2 separate regions of the Homo sapiens genome follow, and region 1 is linked to region 2. Evidence: promoter capture Hi-C in 16 types of primary human blood cells and fetal thymus (Javierre and others, 2016). All regions are on one chromosome and are shown on one strand. The core of a region is centred on a gene start or on the middle of the fragment in contact, and the rest is flanking DNA. Distances in the headings are between cores, read along the strand shown.

The links. The method cuts DNA at HindIII sites, captures the fragments that hold promoters and counts their contacts. A CHiCAGO score of 5 or more calls a contact.
Region 1: a fragment that was not itself captured here is called in contact with the fragment with the promoter of LATS1 in region 2 in 1 of 17 cell types (erythroblasts); the score reaches 5.3 in erythroblasts.

Annotation. Positions count from the first base shown.
Region 1 is chr6:149,904,303-149,907,002 of GRCh38, reverse strand. All of the region lies in intron 1 of RAET1E-AS1 (RAET1E antisense RNA 1), which reads right to left. It also overlaps the pseudogene LOC100240714. Among named protein-coding and RNA genes, the nearest start is that of RAET1E, 7.5 kb to the right of the region's middle. The HindIII fragment of the contact is 2,126 bases long and covers 260-2,385 here.
Region 2 is chr6:149,716,799-149,719,498 of GRCh38, reverse strand. It overlaps LATS1 (large tumor suppressor kinase 1), which reads left to right and starts at 1,398. Exons shown (of 8, transcript NM_004690.4): 1 at 1,398-1,650. LOC645967 (a long non-coding RNA gene) reads right to left here and starts at 1,878. Exons shown (of 1, transcript NR_134652.1): 1 at 603-1,878. RefSeq lists a silencer at 1,519-1,908. The HindIII fragment of the contact is 4,826 bases long and covers 1-2,655 here.

The DNA.
Region 1 (2,700 bases), core at 73-2,572, 190 kb before region 2:
AGGAATAACTGAAACGAAAGATACTAATTTTCTTTCTCTTGTTGACTCAACCAGGTTTTCTTCTCCATTTCTGGCTGACAGAGACCAAACAGGTTGGCTTTATTCCACTGTCCTCTAGTCGTTGGAGACTGCTTTCCAATACTGTCCAAATGTCACCTCCATCTTAGAGACTCCTTCTGGGAAAGATGACTTTGTAGCCAACAATTAGGGAGAAGAGAATAGGAAGCAGGAGAAAGAGTTAAAGTGCTGCACAGAAGCTTCCATCCACAAGAGGAGCACGCCACCAAAGCAGCTGTAGAATACACAGTATGGCAAAGGGCTGGAGTCCAGCCTGTGCTGTCTGAGAAGGCATACCAAGCTCAGAACCAGGTCCCACCCAGAGAAGTAGTCCAGTCCCCCTTGTCATTGAGAAATAGCCAAACCCAGTGCGCTAGACAGAGACCACGTACACCACACTCTCTCGCAGAAGCTGTCCAGGGAAGAGATAGACCAACAGGATGATCTGCAGACCATCCTTGGCCAGAGCCCTAGACCAAGGAGAGCTGGGCAAGTCCATGATGTCCAATCAGAGCTGGGCCCAGGGTTCATGTCTTGAACATCAGGAAGCCCCCAAATGCAGTGCCTCGCTGGTTTCTGTTTGTTACCAATGCCTGGGTTAACTCCAACCACACTCTCTCACCCTTTCGCAGCTCAGCCATGGCAAAGGTGGCTGCTGTGCTTCCCGCCCAGGGTCCCTGATGGAGCCCTCCAAACACCAGGTGCCTGGTTCCTGGCCCTGGGCCAAATTCAATGCTCACTGCAAATGGGACACCAAACTCCGGCTTGGTAGTAGCCATGTTCAGGGAAGTTGCTGCTGTCAGTGTCGATGTAGCTAGTGTTGAACTTCCATGTCTGCAGGGCAGCTGTCCTTTCTGAGAAACTGGCATAGAAGGCCACAGGGGAGCCTGCCTGCCAGAGCTCAGTGTTCAAGGCATCTGGCACTGGCCCTTTGATGTGTGTGTCTGGCAAAGGCTCAGCTTCTTTCCTGTCCCTCTTCCGGGGAACTTCTGGGCCTTTCTGCTTCTGCTTCCTTTTCCTGCTGGGCACGGTTTCCAGCTTCCCCAGATTTAGGCTGACACTGCTGTCACCAGCTCTTGGAAGTTTCCAAGGAGGAGCAGCTGGTGCAGTCCAAGCTGCACTCGGAGGCGGACCATGGAGGCCCCGAGGCAGGTGAGAGAGGTGGCTGGGCAGCCTTGCAGCACCACCCGAGCCACTGAAGTCAGATCTCAGGAGCTGGAGCTCCTGAGCCAGCCCAGCCAGGGCTTCACACAGCTTCTTCTGGGCCCAAGTGGTCGCCAGCTCCAAGTGCTCTGCCGGCCATGGGGGCTCCAAGCCACGGCCCACTCGTGGCCTGCTCCAGGGCTGCCACCCGGGTAGCCAGCGAGTCCCAACCGAGCACCTGCTCCTTCAGGGCCAGGCAGATCTGCTCACGGGCAGGGGAAGCTGGCCGTGCGCCTCCTTTGACCTCTCCTCCATCACCTCCTCCCCAGAGAGGGAGGCCAGCAGGCCTCCATCAGGGCAGCCTAGGAGCTGTGCAGCTGGCGCCGCCATCCAGGCTCCCCTGGGTCTCCTTCAGGGTGCGTGGTGTCCCCGTGGCACTCCCGGACGGCCTCCAAGTGAAAGTAGAGCTTGTGGCAGCTGCCTCCTTGACATACTTGATGAGGTCAGTGTGGTCGCCCCACAGGTGCTGCAGGGTGAGGCTGAGCTCCAGGAGCTGCTACTCCACCTCCACCTTGTTTGCCTCCATAATTAAAGGCTTCATCAGGACCACACACAGCTCACAGAGCGCCCTGTGGTTCACCTCCATCTCTGGCTCCATTTTGCTGATCTGATGGAAGGTCTCGTCCAATTCGGAGCACAGCTCCTTCATCTCATCCACGTGCCGGGTCAGGGTAGCCCTCATATCCCTGAGGGGTGTTTTGCAATTCCTCCTCCCTGCAGGCTGAGTCCATGTGCAGCACCCAGAGGTTCCTCTGCAGTTGGCCAGCCTGGCCTGCAGGCTCTCCAGTTCAGGCCTTGCCCCAGCCCCTGCCGTCATCAACACGCAGCTGCCATTAGTCCTTGGGGCCTCCTGGGTTTGGCCTCTTCAATTTGGTGTCCACATCAGCCTGGACCTCAGAGAGGGAGTGTACAGGGAAGAGCACCGAGCATGCCGTCAGTCCTCCACATCCTTTCACAGCTGGCCCACTCTCTGAGCATTTTCCTGGATCTTGGCTTCAAATTTACCACCAAGCTCCTGGCAGTCAGCCCTGGCCACAGCACTATCCTGGACCATCGTGATGGCCTGGTGTTGGCCTCCACATCAAGAAACAGATTTGTTATGTCCGGGGAAAAGCCATGCAAGCTTTCCTTTAAGCTCTTTCAGATGGGGCCGAAATGCACTTGCAGGAAGGTGTCCATGTGGGGCAGCAGCACCTGCTCCAAGGATCTACCAGACAACTCCAGCTCTGTTTGATTTGCCACACTGCAGCTGTGAGGTTACTAGCCAGGGCTTTCCACGGGCCTGGTAGGCTGTCACCTGGGGGAATGTCATCCTGGAGATCTCCCAGGAGGGATTCCTGCTGCTCCTGTTGCACTTCAGCCTCATTGATCTCCACAGCCAGGTGGCGTGACTTTAACTTCCTGGCCGTCTGGAGCACCCTGTGGACATGGCTGCTGTGA
Region 2 (2,700 bases), core at 149-2,648:
TGCCCTTCCAGATGCATAATCCTTTTGGATAGGGCAAGCAGACCTGTGGACATATTAGATTCCTATAATTCATATAATTTTAGGGCTGAAAAGGTCTTTATGGGGCACCCTTACGTTGAAGAAAGTAAGCCCTGGGGCTCTTTAGTGACCCACCTTGGGTCACATTGCCTTCTACAAACTCTGTGCTTGTAGAAAATAGACTTTCAACCAAATGTTCTTGGAACATAATCTTTTTTTTTTTTTTTTTTTTTTTGAGACGGAGTCTCGCTCTGTCGTCCAGGCTGGAGTGCGGTGGCGCGATCTCGGCTCAATGCAAGCTCCGCCTCCCGGGTTCCTGCCATTCTCCTGCCTCAGCCTCCCGAGTAGCTAGGACTACAGGCGCCCGCCACCACGCCGGGCAAATTTTTCTGGATTTTTTAGCAGAGACGGGGTTTCACCGTGTTAGGCAGGATGTTCTCGATCTCCTGACCTCGTGATCCGCCCGCCTCGGCCTCCCAAAGTGCTGGGATTACAGGCGTGAGACACCGCGCCCGTCCGGAACATAATCTTTTAACGGGTTTTCACATTTGGATTTCTAGATACAGTAAGTAGCCAGTTATTACTTTAACGTCAGAAAAAGATGTCTTTAATTTTTTTGTACTCTGTAGTAGAAAAATTACGAAAGAAGGTACTTGAAAACACTAACTGTATATTTCCTAGAGGAAAAACTGGCAAAGGCGATCTTCACAAAGGGTGGACCGTACCTTATACATCAAACCCAACGATCCCATCCCACACTTTACATTCAGCTTAACCAGAAGTAAAACCTCTTGTCACACCGTCACCGGTATTCCAATTATGGCAATAACGATCTCCTTCTACGGATGCGGTTGACAGATAAGATCTCTAAACCGCTGCTAATCAATCGGTCCTGGCTCAAGCATTTCTTATCTGCCGGATTCAGAAAATACAGATGCTGGAAGCTCACCGGCTTGTTCGGGGAAAGAACGCTAAGCAAGAATAAAATTTTATTTCAAAGCGCCAAAAATCTGGAATTCTGAGGTCCACAGGGAGGTTTCCCAGAGCAACTCAGTTGTTCCCTTCTGAGAACGTAGCTCCGTGAAATGCACATCCCTACTCGGTCCAGAGAAATAGATCAATGGGGAAAAGGATTGAATCAACCAAGTAGGCTGGGCGGGAGACAGCCTTAACCCACGGGCGCGGGCGAGTCGTATGGGCAGGGGCAGGCGGGAGCGACGTGGGGCGACGCTCACGAACGATCAGAGCTGCGGGCGACGCAACGAAGCCCGGAGGCCGCAGGCTGCGCGCTCCCTCGCAGCAGCCGGGCGGGCAAAAGCCCCCAGTCCTCGGCCCCCGCGCAAGCGACGCCGGGAAATGCCCACATCCGGGAAACCTGCAGCGGAGTGCGGCGGCGGCGACACTGAGTGGAAGGCAAAATGGCGGCGGCGGCGGCGGTGGCCTGGTGTTAAGGGGAGAGCCAGGTCCTCACGACCCCTGGGACGGGCCGCGCTGGCCCGCGGCAGCCCCCCCGTTCGTCTCCCCGCTCTGCCCCACCAGGGATACTTGGGGTTGCTGGGACGGACTCTGGCCGCCTCAGCGTCCGCCCTCAGGCCCGTGGCCGCTGTCCAGGAGCTCTGCTCTCCCCTCCAGGTAGGTCCGGGGCTGGCGTAGCGGGTGCGCTCCTCCAGTGCTCGAGTTGGCGGGGCGGTGGCCGCCGGGGCCCACGCCCATCCCCGCTGGCGAGGGTCCAGAGGTTTGGACTGGCGGGCAGAGCCGGCCCGCTCCGGGCCTGACTTGGCTGGTTGCATTGACCCGAGCTGAGCCCTGCCCTGGGGAAGCGAGGGTTGGCCGCGCCCGGTGCTGCAGGAAGAGCCCCAGGCTTTTCGGCCTCGGAGGTGCAGGTTTGGCTGGGTAGAGCCTGTCTTTCTGGCGGCGTGTCTCCCACCCCACCCCCAACACGCGAGTCGGCGGTGTCCAGGAGGGAAGGAACGGGAAAGGTGGTTCTGAAGGAAAATTGCAGTAAAAGAGCTACAGTTCTTTGGATCCCAGAGGGCCTTGATCCTGGGTATACCTTAGAGAAATCCTGGGAGTCTCTTACGTCTAGTTCAGTGTGATTTTAGGTTACTGTTCATAGTTGGAAGAGGTGGGAGAGATGGAGAGGTCTTTATGGAGTAGGAGTGTGTATATAAATACAGCAAATGAAGGAACGACAATTAAGGGAACAGTGTTTTTTATAACCTGAAATAGCTTGTAGCTCAATGAATGCCTCAGATGACTTGATTTATCCCCATTCTGACTTCTCTGTCAATTTCTAAGGGAACAAAATTTAATGTTTGTCAACTCATATGTTAATACGGCTTTTAAAACATGTATCATCCTCCAGAAGTTATTCATAAATCTAGTGAACAATAAGTATAATCTCATGCACAGAAGTAATATTGTATAACTCCAGTTTTGGAAATGGATTTGAATGTTAGCGATCATGAAACTTGTTTGAACTTTATGAATTATTTATTGAAGGTTAATAAATTTATCAGTTTATCAGTTTATCAGAAGTTTCTGATAAACTTAATTTTTTATCAAATTTCCTCCATGAGGAAGAAAAGGTAGGACATTATAATTGGAGTGAATGTTCTGTGCTACGAAAACAAAGCTTATTATCTCTGACGGTAAAATGGGGTAGTTGATTCCTTAAGGCAG